Linked DNA regions of Homo sapiens: all the other regions are linked to region 5. The links are contacts of gene promoters, found by promoter capture Hi-C in blood cells and fetal thymus (Javierre and others, 2016). All regions are on one chromosome and are shown on one strand. The core of a region is centred on a gene start or on the middle of the fragment in contact, and the rest is flanking DNA. Distances in the headings are between cores, read along the strand shown. Region 1 overlaps APOBEC1 (apolipoprotein B mRNA editing enzyme catalytic subunit 1). Region 2 has its middle 39 kb from the start of APOBEC1. Region 3 has its middle 61 kb from the start of APOBEC1. Region 4 has its middle 62 kb from the start of CD163. Region 5 holds the start of ACSM4 (acyl-CoA synthetase medium chain family member 4).

Region 1 (2,875 bases), core at 370-2,869, 340 kb after region 5:
GGTGGACCTTGCCCCCGATCTGTGCTTGCAGCTTGATCTTTCAAGCTGTTTCTTTGTTAGAAAGGAATTCTACCAAGGACATGTCCTAGCTATCTGCCTAACTGGTACTTTTCACTCTCCTCTCATTCGTAAATTTATTATTTATTTATTTATTTATGGGGTTTTTTTTGAGATGGAGTTTCACTCTTGTCCCACAGGCTGGAGTGCAATGGTGCAATCTCGGCTCACTGCAACCTCCGCCTCCCAGGTTCAAGCGATTCTCCTGCCTCAGCTTCCTGAGTAGCTGGGATTACGGGCGTGCACCACCACGCCCAGCTAATTTTTGTATTTTTAGTAGAGACCGCGTTTCACCATGTTGGCCAGGCTGGTCTCGAACTCCTGACCTCAAGTGATCTGCCCTCCTCGACCTCCCAAAGTGCTAGGATTACAGGCATGAGTCACCGCGCCCAGCCTCATTAGTAGATTTAATATTATTATAAAGGAGTTATAAATTAGAATTGCTGTTACTCAGCTTATATGAGTAATTGATGAGTAGGCTAAGAGTTTTTTGTAATTGTGTCTGATTTAGCCCTTCTCATCCTCCTACTAAAAATGATAATATAGCGGTGGTTAATATTATGTTTAGGTTTGAGAAAGAAAATGAACATTTTATCTGAGGAATGTGAGCTCCTTTAAATTATCAAGCCCAGAGGAATATTTAAAATGTGACAGCAGGCTGGACGCAGTGGCTCACGCCTGTAATCCCAGCACTTTGGGAGGCCAAGGCGGGCGGACCATGAGGTCAGGAGATCGAGACCAGCCTGGCTAACACGGTGAAACACCGTCTGTACTAAAAATACAAAAAATTAGCCGGGCGTGGTGGCGGGCGCCTGTAGTCCCAGCTACTCGGGAGACTGAGGCAGGAGAATGGCCTGAACCTGGGAGGCGGAGCTTGCAGTGAGCCGGACATTGTGCCACTGCACTCCAGCGTGGGCGACAGAGTGAGACTCTGTCTCAAAAAAAAAAAAAAAAAAAAAAAAAAACTTAAAAAAAAAATGTGACAGCAATCACATCTCACTCTCTGCTTGAGCTAATTACCTCTTAAAGCCCCTTGCAACATGGGCTCTAGACTGACACTAAGCAGCCACAAAATGCCCTGTGCTGGACACCATGTATAGCCAATCACTAACCAATATTATTTCTGTAAACCAATGAGAATTCCTATCAAACAACTTCCGCAGGCAAGTCATGCAATGTCTCTGCAGGTCTCCGAAGCTCTCATGGAGATGGTAGCTCCTCTCTGCATCTGGTCATCCAGTCCTCTATAAATCACCTGTGAATCTCATGATATTCTAATTAAGAAACAAATAATAATAGATGTTACTACTTTGTCTTTTGTTTCCCTCTATCTGTGTCTTCAGAAATTGATTCCATGTAATTATTTGTCTGAAAACAGAGAAAGCCCCTACAGGGAAAATCCAAGATGGCTTCCAGTGATTTTCATGTCCTGAGTTTCAAATCCTTGTGTATGAGTCCCCTCTTACTCTGAGTCATGGCTGGCCTGTGTAACAAATAGAATACTGCAAAAGAAATAGGGTGTGATTCCAAGATGAAGTCATCAAAGTCGTGGAAATTTCCACCTTGGTCTCTCTTCGATCACTCGCTCTGGGCCAGGTATGGTGGCTCACACCGGTAATCCCAGCACTTTGGTAGGCCGAGGCTGGTGGATCACTTGAGTCCAGGACTTTGAGACCAGCCTGGGCAACACAGCAAAACTCCATCTCTACAGGAAATTTTTCAAAAGGTAAATTAATCTGTAGGAAGCCAACTGCCATGTCCTGAGGTTATTTAAGCAACCCTGTGGAGAGGCCTGTGTGGCAAGAAACTGAAACCTTCTACCAGCCACTAGCACAAACTTGCCAGCCATCTGAGCCTGCCACCTGGGAAGCACATTCTCCAGCCTCAGTCAAGCCCTCAAATGATTGCAGCGCTGGCTGCCATCTTGACTACAACCTCGTGGGGGACCTGAGACAGGAACACACAGATAAGCTGCTTCTAAATTCCTTACCCACAGAAACTGCCAGAGGTAATACATATTTATTGTTGGTTTAAGCTACAGAGTTTTGGGGTACCTTGTGAACATTTCTAGATTCTAAATGGCATTCACTCTTTAGTGGGTCATCATTGCTTGTTCTTGAATCAGTACACACACGGAATCATCCTATTCATCTCCAAGCCACAGAAGGATGTATCAGCCCTGTAGCTAAAAGGATGTGTGGCGGAATCGTTTGGTAATGGCAGTTTTGAAGATGAAGTCTGAAAAATGTAAGATGATTTTGCCATCTTCTTGAAATCTTTAAACAGGGTGGAAGACTCTGGAATAAAAAAGGATTATATTTAATCCTTAGGATGAATATTTTAATTAATAATATTATCACCACAAACATTTAAAAATGTCAGTTGGAAGACGATTTAACTATTTCTTCTTTTTTTTTTTTCCCAGACAGGGTCTGGTTCTGGACTCACTGCATTCACCCAGGCTGGAGCGCAGTGGTGCAATCACAGCTCACTGCAGCCTCAACCTCCTAGGCTCAAACAATTCTCCCACCTCAGCCTCCCAAGTAGCTGGGACTACAGGCACGCACCACCACACCCAGCTAATTTTTTTGTGTTTTTGTTGAGATGTGGTTTCGCCATGTTGCCCAGGCTGGTCTCCAACTTCTGGGCTCAAGCCATCCACTCCCCTCTGCCTCCCAAAGTGCTAGGATTACAAGCATGAGCCACTGCACCCAGCCTGAACCACTTTCAAGAGAATCCAATGGAACACGTACATTCTCTTCAATAAGATTACACACACTAATAAGAGAAAGGAGAATATCTGAAATACAGTAGAGCC
Region 2 (2,790 bases), core at 249-2,748, 320 kb after region 5:
CTTGCTGGGCTTTTGTTACATTCCAACCTGTGTATAAGAGCACTGGCTTTTAATAGTTAACCACTCTGAAACAGTTGTTATGGAGGCCTGCATTAGTGAGACCTGGCCTGCCACAAAGCCATCTTGGTAGGGAGGGCTGCAGGTGCTGACTGAGTATTTCAATAATAAATTTTTCTTTTTTTTTTCTTCTTTTGAGACGGAGTCTCCCTCTGTCACCCAGGCTGGAGTGCAATGGCATGATCTCGGCTCACTGCAACCTCCGCCTCCCAGGTTCAAGCGATTCTCCTGCCTCAGCCTCCTAAGTGGCTGGGAGTACAGGCGCACACCACCAGACCTGGCTAATCTTTTGGTATTTTAGTAGAGACAGTGTTTTGCCATGTTGGCCAGGCTGGTCTCGAACTCCTGACCTCAGGTGATCCATCCACCTCAGCCTCCCAGAGTGCTGGGATTACAGGCATGCCTAGCCATAAATTGTTCTGATGATGTATTTCTGGTTTATGGAAAGGAAAAAAAAATTACAGGAGCCACAGAGATCACAGTAAGTATGATGGCGGGGGGAAAGAGCTACTCTTCGCACCATCAGAAGTATAATTCAAGGCAATAACTGTCTCATTTTCTGCCCTCAGAGCTGTGTTTGCTACTTAAAATATCTGTGAACCAATGAAAATTTCAAATGAGCAGCAGGATGTAAAGCAAATGAGAAATTTAAGCTGTGCTCCCAGAAGGCAATTATTATTAAATATATGTACCACAGCATTATCATCATCATACACATGAAATCAATTATCACCCTAAGCAACCACAATTTCAGTTACCTTATTTTCCTTAGGAAGTCTACCATCACTTACCAGATTTTTACCTAAATGAATTATTATTCATGTCAAAGAACAATAGTTTATTATACCAACATTTGTAGCTATCATAGCTTTACTTAGTTTATATTTTTATGTCTGACTGATTTACTCTACACCACTTAAAATATTGCCAACAACCAACAACATAAAAACAAAATGCCAGGTGAAGAATACAAACAAAATAGCCTTTCTATCTCCACTTAGGATATTATCAATCTTTTCTTTCCCCCTTGCACGAATATTTTTAGCATTGGATCAGGAATTTAGGTTAGCCAGAACAACAACCCTCAAAGTCTTAAGCAAGTATATCATACTTAATTCCTGAAAAATAAGGACTGTAAAACTTTATCCCACATTAATTGAATGAAAATTAAACACTTTTATTAAGCTAAAACCTCATTAGACTAGTAGGCTCCAGCCCCATGGTACCACTCTGCATTTAAACAATAAGAAATTTTTAGTTATTCCTCCTCCTTGCCAGTATGTGGTATTGTAAAGTCTTTTTATTTTAGCTATTCTAATCATTGTGTATTGGTATTTGGTTGTGGTTTTAATTTGCATTTCTCTAATGACTAGTGATGTTAATTTCAGGTGCCTATTTTCTATCTGAGTATCTTCCCTGGGGAAGTATCTGTTCAAATCTTTTTGCCTATTGTTTACTCTTTAAAATTGAGTTATGAGAGTTCTTTATGTATTCTAGATACAAACTTATTAACTATATGATGTGCAATTATTTTCTTCCAGACTATGGCTAGCCTTCCAATCTTTTAATGGTCTTTTGAAGAAGTAAAGTTTTTAATTTTCATAATATCTACCTTATTAGTTTGTCCTTTGGTGTTGGTCTTATGTCCAAGAACTCTTTGCTTACCCAAGGTGACAAAGATTTTTCTTTTAAATTTTCTTCTTCCTAGTGTTGGTGATGAGAAATTGGAAGTCAATATAATTGTATTTCCTTTGAGTATTATGTGTTTTTCCACTCTGAAGTTTAGATGAAGATTTATGTTTTAGCTAAATCCTGAAAATTTCTCATTTATTGTTGTTATAATTATTATTGATTGTACTCTACTCCATTTAATATTTCTATAACTTGGATGCATATTGAAATTTCTGTATATGTATCCTCCGTATCTCTTTTATATTCTTTGTCATTATTCCCCTTTTACTGTATTTTGGGAGAATTACTTATTTAGGTCTCTCGGGTCAAAATTTTTCTGGCATTATCCATTCTGTTCTTCACCTACTATCTTAAGGATTTTCTTTCTATTTTCATAGGGCAAACTTTTATTTTTATAATCTATGGCTTTTAAAATTAATAAAATATCGTTTAGTCTCTCTTTGAATATATTACTTATACTTCTTTTCTATATCTTCTCTGTTTTTTAAAACATGTTTCCTTGAGTGTAAAGTATTTCATTTGTTGTACTTACTGTTTTCATGGTCTTGCAAACCAAAAATGAAGATTTCTTCCTTCTCAGGGGAATCAAGGAAGAAGCCTCTCACTCAATTATGAGCCCCCAAAGCTGAAATTCTATTTAAGCCATTCCCTGAATTTTCTACATGAGAAAACAAATTATTTTCATGTGCCATATCACTACCAAAAATAAATATTAAATACAGTTCCATTATGTACATGGTGTGTTAGTGCTCTTCAACATTTAATAATCTACTACTACTGTACATAATCATATGAATGCATATATGTAATTGTACGTGGAAGAATATACCCCATGCATGTCAAGTGCAAGTGCCTGGGCCAGGCAATTTCCAAAGCACCTCTTCAGGTAGTCAGTTTCCATCCTGGGCCCAAGTTCAATTTCCAGGTTTTTTTTGTTATGGTTTGGTTTTTGGGTTTTTTATGTTGCAGCTGTTTGTTTTGAGACAGGGTCTCACCATCCTGGCTGGAGTGTAGTGGCGCGATTTTGTGTTGTTGTTGTTT
Region 3 (2,780 bases), core at 193-2,692, 300 kb after region 5:
CCAGCCGTTCTAGACCAAGAACCAAAAGTAGTGTCTTGAGTATATGGTTAGGGGCAGACATCACAGGAAAAGCCCCCATAGAGAGATTTGTTCTCAAACTGATTAAGAACTTGACCTCCCATTTGCCTGGGACTACTCCAACCCCAGTCCCTAACACACACTTTAATCCATCAAATAATGACCCTAAAAGAGTAGAAATAATTGAAGTAAAGGATTTATGGCAAACCTTAGAAACTGAGACAGGGAACAGAGATGTGAATGCCTGGGTCAAATGGCTCAAATTTTTGGTATAAACACTGAACAAGAGCAACTGCTACACGTGTGCTGTGGGAGGACCTCAGGCACAGGTGTTTCTGTTTCCCCTAGGCTGGGTATTGATCCTGAAGGAATGTGTTGCATGTTGGCTCTAAACCAGGACAAGGATGCATGGGGAAATGAGACTCATAAGAGTCTGTCATTGATCTTTCCCACATTGTGGAGGTCAGATTCCAGAGCAATCCCCTCCTTCTCTATAGGGAATATGAACCACTCCTCTTGCCTCTTTAGGCAGGGGCAGAGTTCAATAAGCCTATGGGAGAACTCTCGACTTGTACCCACATTCTAAACATCACAGGTAAGTCAGGCAATGGCAATTACTCAGCTTTTATATACCCTGGGCTGATGTCTGATGGTATTATGGGAACAGGAACCTCGGTAACCTGTTACCATCTAATTGGACCAGGACTTGTGCTTTAGTTCAATTGGCCATTCCCTTCACCCTGGCATTCCATAAAATACCTGAAAATACACATGGCCATTGGAACAAGAGAGACTTAACAAATTCTTTTTTTCTCATAAAAATATTATATTTTTCAGAAGAAATATTACACATAATACATTGAAAATCACTGATTGTTTTTCTTCTTTTTTCTGTGAATGTGTAGGTGTTTGAGTCTCTTGTATTTCTTCTTTTATACAGGATATGGGCTGTTAGAAAACTATTTCATTATATTTATCATCATCATTCATTTCAGCCACTTCAGATTTTTGTCTCTCCAAAAATACTGGTGTACAAACTGGTGTGGGGCCCTGGCTATCCACGGTCTTCTCAGGAGTGTCAAGAGTGCCAAAAACCCTTTTCTTCTTCTTACAGAAAACCTGGCCTTTTGTAGATGTCTGATGATTAGTTTTTAAAATACTTTCTGTTTTCTGTAAAATCAAAGAAGGAAAATCATAATCAATTCCTTTTTTAGCTCATTTCTTCCTGAGTAATCTTTGTTTCTTTTTAAATCACTCCTCCATCCGTAGCTTTTGTGTTAGTGTCCGATTCTGATTATAACATTTCACTGATGATAAGATGGCTGCTTAAATGGAATATTCCAGTCTTTAAAGAGCTCTTTGTGTACTTTTTCAGGTGGCATATAATGACACTCCAAGAGTCTTTCACCAAACAGGTACTTGTTCATTGTTTCATCAACTATCTTGGCAACATCCTCAAACTCAAACTTGCAGATGCATAGCCTTTGCTATTTCCAGTCCTTTTACTTCTGAACAGTCTGAACCATGTAACAGTGCCAAACTGGGAGAAATACGAAAAGATCTGGGTTTCATTAAGTAGGTGGCACACAAAGACTACTCTAGGAGTAAGTTGTTCTTGTTCTTTTTGCTGGGTTGTGCACTTGCAAACCTCTACCACCTCCTTTTGAAACTCGACATCTTCCTGCGGGTTAAGTGACAGGATTGGCCCAGCTGGTACAGAAAAGGCTGCCATGCCAAAAGCGGCCATCACTAACTCTACGAGGCACTCCTAGAAACGTCAGGTTCTCAGCTCCCCAACAAATTTTTTTGATCGTAATATATATGTTGCCTTCATAGGAGTCCCTAGAGGGGATGCCTAATGAATTTAAGGCCTGAAACCAAATAGCTGCTGGGTTTCAGTCAGCACTCCTCTCATGATCAGCTATTAATAAAAATGTGGATTGGATTAATTCTATTTATTATTATCAACAGAAATTCATCAATTATACTCGGGACACCCGAGTTTAATTAACTAGCCAGTTACATGCCACCAGCTGAATGGCCTGGGAAAAGAGGCTTGAGCTAGACATGATACTAGCAGATAAAGGGGGCATATGTGTTATGCTGGGTGGGAAATGTTGTATTTTCATTCCCAACAATACTGCCCCAGATTGAACTATTACAAAAGCATTACAAGGACGGAAAACTCTCACCAACAAACTGGCAGAAAATGCTGGAATTGATGACCGATTTACTGGTTGGCTAGAAGGTTGGTTTGGGAAATGGAAAGGCATGGTAGCTTCAGTCCTTACATCTCTCATAATTGTAGCAAGGGCCTTAAGGGCAGTGGGATGCTATATTATCCCTTGTATACTGGAACTAGCACAAAGGTTAATTGGAACAGCTATTAACAAACAAATGCCCATGACCTACCAGCAAAATAACTTACTGTTGTTAGACACTGAACCAGACTATGAAGAAGAAAGTAAAGTAGTCCTAAAATGATTTGAGGACGAAAGGACCCAAAAATTAAAGTAAAAATAAGACCAAAAGATGAAAAGAAAGAAAGAAAGAAAGAAAGAAAGAAAGCAAGAAAGAAAAGAGAAGAGAAGAAAAGGAAAGGAAAGAAAAAAAAGGGAACTTGTAAGAAAACATTTTAATGGTCCATTTTCAAGGCATGATAGACCTAAGTACTCGCAGCCAGCCTGCGGATATGACAAACTGCACAGCTTATGCACGTAGAAAGTCATAATAAGCAAACAGAATGTAGAGGAGGGGTCAGC
Region 4 (2,830 bases), core at 168-2,667, 260 kb after region 5:
GACAGTGTGGCAATTCCACAAGGATCCAGAACTAGAAATACCATTTGACCCAGCCATCCCATTACTGGGTATATACCCAAAGGATTATAAATCATGCTGCTATAAAGACACATGCACACGTATGTTTATTGTGGCACTATTCACAATAGCAAAGACTTGGAACCAACCCAAATGTCCATCAATGATAGACTGGATTAAGAAAATGTGGCACATATACACCATGGAATACTATGCAGCCATAAAATAAGATGAATTCATGTCCTTTGCAGGGACATGGATGAAGCTGGAAGCTATCATTCTGAGCAAACTATCGCAAGAACAGAAAACCAAACACTACATGTTCTCACTCATAGGTGGGAATTGAACAACAAGAACACTTGGACAGAGGATGGGGAGCATCACACACCGGGGCCTGTTGTGGGGTGGGGGAAGGGGGGAAGGATAGCATTAGGAGAAATACCTACTGTAAATGATGAGTTAATGGGCGCAGCACACCAACGTGGCACATATATACATATGTAACAAACCTGCGCGTTGTGCACATGCACCCTAGAACTTAAAGTATAATTTAAAAAAAAGAAAAAAAGAAATATGTCTCTTTATTAAGAAAAACATAACTTTTATCCAAGCTTATTCTTCTAGGTTAAAAAAAAGGAAACACAACTTCTGTTGGAATCAATTTAAAGAGAATATATGCATCAATGGCAGACTGGAAAAGAAAATGTGGTACATCTACACTGTGGAATACCATGCAGCCATAAAAAGGAATGAGATCATGTCCTTTGCAGGAGCATGGATGAAGCTGGAAGCCATCATCTTCAGCAAACTAACACAGGAACAGAAAACCAAATACTGCATGTTCTCACTCATAAGTGGAAGTTGAACAATGAGAACACGTGGACATAGGGAGGGAAACAACACACACCAGGGCTTGTTGAGGGTTTGTGGGTGAGGGGAGGGAACCTAGAGGATGGGTCAATAGTGCAGAAAACCACCAAGGCACACATATACCAAAGTAACCAACCTGCACATTCTGCACATGTATCTGGGAACTTAAAGTAAAATAATTTTTAGAAAAGATTGGGAGATGGGATATATGAGCTAATAATAGTAGTATATTAAGTTGGGCTCCTATCTCATGTGATAGCATTATAGCCCCAGCAAGTAATTTGTTTCCAGGTTAAATACTTTAAGTGTGTGTCAACAGTAGGTATGTTGTATCTCTGAAAAGAATGATCACCAGCTTTTTAACAATTGTAATTGTAACATTAGCATTTTATACTTTCCTTATTTCATATATAAGGCTTGTGCATGTTTTTTAGTTGTCTTAGCTGAGGGTATCTAGAAGGAACTGGAAAGAACAGATATAAATACCTGACATCTTTGGTCTCAAGATATTAGGACTGTTTATACCACCTAAAATGATAAGCATTTTCAGTGCAACCCCATCAAAATTCCAGCGACCTCCCTGCTTCTCCCATTGGACAAATATCCAATTTTCTTATGCAGCATCAGCCCTCTTCCTGAGACACCAGAGTGAAAGTGAAGGCAGGAGTAAATGGATTTGGCCATATTAGGTGCCTGTTCATGATAGCTGCTTTTAATCCTGGCAAAGTGGATACTGTTACCACCAATGGCCCTTTCATTGACCTCAACTACATGGTCTACATGTTCCATTATGATCCCACCCATGGCAAGTTCCATGGTACCATCAAGGCTGAGAATGGGAAGCTAGTCATCAATGGAAATCCCGTCACTATCTTCCAGGAGTGAGAGCTCACCAAAACCAAATGAGATAATGCTGGTGCTAATTATGTCATGGAGTCCAATGGCATCTTCACTACCTTGGCAAAGGCTGGGGCTCACCTGGAGAGGGGAACCAAAAGGTTCATCATCTCCATCCCCTCTGCAGATGTCCCCATGTTTGTGATGGGCATGAACCATAAGCATGAAAACAAACTCACAGTCATCAGCAATGCCTCCTGTACCACCAACTGCTTAGATCCCCTGGCCAAGGTCATTCATGACAACTTTGGCATCAGGGAGGGACTCATGACCACAGTCCACAGCATCATTGCCACCCAGAAGACTGTGGATGGCCCCTCCAGGAAACTCTGGCATGACAGCCATGGGGCTTTCCAGAACACCATTCCTGCATCTACTGGTGCTGCCAAGTAAATGGGCAATGAGAGGGCAAGGTCATTCCTAAGCTTAATGGGAAGCTCACTGGCATGGTCTTCTGTGTTCCCAGCACCACTGTGTCAGTTGTGGAACTGACCTCTTGTCTGGAGAAACCTGCTAGACAGGTTTCTTCAGACATCAAAAAGGTGGTGAGGCAGGCACCCAAGGACCCCTCAAGGGCATCCTGGGCTATACTGAGCACCAGGTTGTCCCTTTGGAATTTAAAAGCAATACCCGCCCTTCCACCTTTGAAGCTGGGGCTGGCATTGCCGTCAATGACCACTTTGTCAAGCTCATTTCCTGGTATGGCAATGAATTTGCCTACAGTAACAAGGTGATGGACTCATGGTACACATGGCCTCTGAGGAGTAAAATCCCCCAATCACTAACCCCAGGGAGAGCGCAGGAAGAAGAGAGGGACCCTTAGCTGCTGGGGATTCCCTGCTGCACTCAGTCCCCGACCACACAGAATCTTCTCTCCTCACAGTTTCCAGATCCTCTGAAGAAGGAGAGACCTAGGGAGCCCCACCATGTCATTTACCATCAATAAAGTCCCCTGTACTCAGCCAAAAAAAAAAAGATATTTTTCATAGAAATAGAAAAAACCATTCTAAAATTTGTGTGAAACCACAACATACTTCAAGTAATC
Region 5 (2,700 bases), core at 198-2,697:
AGTTCTGAAGTCAGACCAGAGAGGTTCAAACCTTGCCTCTGGTTGCGTCATTGAGCTCATGGTGGCAGAGGCAAGACATGGTTTGTCTCGAGCTGAATGACCTTGGATAAGATCCTTAAGTGTACTTAAACCTCAGTGTCTTCATCTGTAAGATAGAGATAATAATAGCACCAACCTCACAAGCTTGTCATGAATATTGAATGACATCAGAAATGCAAAGTGCCTGCCTACATCAAGAACCTAAAAACTGCCTTTTATTATTGCAGATCTTCTGTGAGTCATGCTTAGTGCTAAGAACACATTACATAGCCTCAACCCATACCGGCTGGGTAGGGAGACAGGGCACATATATGAAAAACTATCATTGATAATACAAAGTAGACAACTGTCACATGAATAGCATAAATGCATGTTACGGAAAACCCAGGGAAGAAATAAACACAAAATTATTTAAAAAATTAATTAGATTACAGATGGTAGTCCAGAAAGAGCAGGCAATTTTACCAATATTAAAAGCAGTTTTTGAAAAAGAAATAAAATCCAAGTCTTCTGGTTCATATGGTAGGATTTTTTAAAATAAAACTATGCCACAATAATATTAAGGAAAATAATCTTAACAACAGCAGTGGTTGCCTGGGTGCAGTGGCTCATACCTACAATCCCAGCACTTTGGGAGGCCAAGGCAGGAAGATTACTTGAGGCTAGGAGTTGGAGGCAAGCCAGCCTGGGTGACATAGTGAGGCCATATCTCTACAAAAAAAAAAAAAAAAAAATTAGCAAGGCATGGTGGTGTGGCCCCTGTAGTCCTAGATGCTCAGGATGCTTAGTCAGGGGGATTGCTTAAGCCTAGGAGTTTGAGGCTTCAGTAAGCTGTGATTGCGCCAACCTGGGTGAAAGAGCAAGACCTTGTTTCTTAATAAACAACAAACAAACAGAAAAACAAAAAAACAACAGTAGTAATTAACACTTTGAAGTCACCTTTTACGAGCTAGGCATTTTATACACATTATCTTATTAAATCCTCACAATAACTGTAGGAGGGAGGTACTATATTTTCCCCTATTTTACAGATGAGAAAATTGAGGTGCAGGAAGATAAGTAACTTGTCCAAAGTCCTACAGCCGGAAAGTGGCTGAACCAGGACTTAAACCCAGGTTTCCAAGCAATCACAATGGGAAGTTGAAGGGGAGAGGAGAACAGGGTAAGCAGGAGCCAGGGAAATGACAGGCCAACTCTTAGTGGGGCATTCATGGCAAGTTAACGGGCCTCCTTTACTGGAAGAGGAAATTCAAGTAGAGGAGTTAGCAGACACAGAACAGTGTATAAAGCAGGCGAAAGGAGGCTCTGAATGCCAGTCCAGACAGCGAAGTTTCTATTTGTCTGTTGTTTGGTTGGGGAGAAGACAGGAACAGAAGACAGGAGTCTGACAATTCTGTAGTTAAGGGGTTTTTTTAGACTCATCTGGTCACAGACAGAATGAAGAGGAAGGGTCCAGTGGCAGGGAGACCAGTCAGTGGCTAAGGCAGCAGCTCTGAGGAAGGATGAGGTGTTTTTCAGGTGTTCCCCAACTTGCCAGGGACACACAGCCACAAATCCACCTCCCAGTCTCACCACAGAGCATCAAGAAACTGATACTCTCTATCCATCTCTCCCTACAGGCTGTAGTACTTCTGTGTCCATAGCAGTAGACAAAGTCCTTTGGGAACCATGAAGATTTTTTTCCGCTACCAGACATTTAGATTCATCTGGCTCACCAAGCCACCTGGCCGGCGCTTACACAAAGATCACCAGCTTTGGACGCCTCTGACTCTTGCTGACTTTGAAGCCATAAATCGCTGTAACAGGCCATTGCCTAAAAACTTTAACTTTGCTGCAGATGTGCTGGACCAGTGGTCCCAAAAGGAGAAGGTATATGACGATGGGCTTCCAGTAGATGCTTGGTGTCCCCTTATCTCTCAGTCTTCCATTTCCTTGTTCTGTGGTCTACCACTTAATTCCAATGCACTCTCTCACCCTCTTGGTTTCCTTTGTTTGTTTTCCAATTGCCCTCCCCTCTCCCCAGGGAAGATCTTAGATCCTCAGCCACAAATGGCTGGGCGGCTCTGGAGCCTTCTCTATCTCCCATCCCCATGGTCGTTCCTCACAGAGTTCTGCCTCTTTTCCTTCTCTTTTCTCCAAGCCCCATGCAACAGTGCTTTGTTTTCAAGTTGGTCACAGGCTTATCGAAAAAGTAGCAAATTGAGTTTTGATTTTATGAATACAGTTATCATTGGAGTAATGAGGAGAGAATTGGAGGTTGACAAGAATAAAGCAAGCGGCCCTTATGCAATGTTTACAGTGCAGCCTCAGGATGAGGTCTCTGTGTACTGATCCTCACCCCATGCCAGGCACTGAGCTAAACACTTAACCAAGCAGTGCTTATCAAAATGCACTGCAGGACCATGGATGGGAACATGATGTTAGGTACTAGACAGACAAGGTATTAAATAACATTGAATCAATTCTTCCTGTTAAATACAGGGGGAAAGCCTTCCTTGAAAGCCATTGTGTCTTTAGCACCTATCATTTGCTAAACACTCTCTTGAATAAAGACCACAGGTAGAAGCTAATCATCTCTAGATAAAATTTAATGGCATAGTTTTGTTTTCAGCATATTTATTTTTCAATAACCTATTTTTTGGCAAGTGGTAATAATTGTCC

Evidence for each region. Contacts are between HindIII fragments. The CHiCAGO score rates a contact against its expected background, and 5 or more counts as called.
Region 1: a contact is called between a fragment that was not itself captured here and the fragment with the promoter of ACSM4 in region 5, in 1 of 17 cell types (M0 macrophages). The highest score is 5.3, in M0 macrophages.
Region 2: a fragment that was not itself captured here is called in contact with the fragment with the promoter of ACSM4 in region 5 in 4 of 17 cell types (M2 macrophages, M1 macrophages, neutrophils and 1 more); the score reaches 9.6 in M2 macrophages.
Region 3: a fragment that was not itself captured here is called in contact with the fragment with the promoter of ACSM4 in region 5 in 1 of 17 cell types (M2 macrophages); the score reaches 5.7 in M2 macrophages.
Region 4: a contact is called between a fragment that was not itself captured here and the fragment with the promoter of ACSM4 in region 5, in 3 of 17 cell types (naive CD4 T cells, total B cells and endothelial precursors). The highest score is 6.0, in naive CD4 T cells.

Annotation. Positions count from the first base shown.
Region 1 is chr12:7,647,343-7,650,217 of GRCh38, forward strand. APOBEC1 (apolipoprotein B mRNA editing enzyme catalytic subunit 1) reads right to left here. Exons shown (of 5, transcript NM_001644.5): 5 at 2,058-2,354. The coding sequence ends at 2,205. Among named protein-coding and RNA genes, the nearest start is that of APOBEC1, 17 kb to the right of the region's middle. The HindIII fragment of the contact is 3,723 bases long and covers 1-2,875 here.
Region 2 is chr12:7,625,374-7,628,163 of GRCh38, forward strand. No RefSeq gene overlaps it. Among named protein-coding and RNA genes, the nearest start is that of APOBEC1, 39 kb to the right of the region's middle. The HindIII fragment of the contact is 7,553 bases long and covers 1-2,790 here.
Region 3 is chr12:7,603,461-7,606,240 of GRCh38, forward strand. It overlaps the pseudogene NIFKP3. Among named protein-coding and RNA genes, the nearest start is that of APOBEC1, 61 kb to the right of the region's middle. The HindIII fragment of the contact is 8,497 bases long and covers 1-2,780 here.
Region 4 is chr12:7,564,830-7,567,659 of GRCh38, forward strand. It overlaps the pseudogene GAPDHP31. Among named protein-coding and RNA genes, the nearest start is that of CD163, 62 kb to the left of the region's middle. The HindIII fragment of the contact is 1,581 bases long and covers 628-2,208 here.
Region 5 is chr12:7,302,625-7,305,324 of GRCh38, forward strand. It overlaps ACSM4 (acyl-CoA synthetase medium chain family member 4), which reads left to right and starts at 1,448. Exons shown (of 13, transcript NM_001080454.2): 1 at 1,448-1,908. The coding sequence starts at 1,708. The HindIII fragment of the contact is 4,163 bases long and covers 182-2,700 here.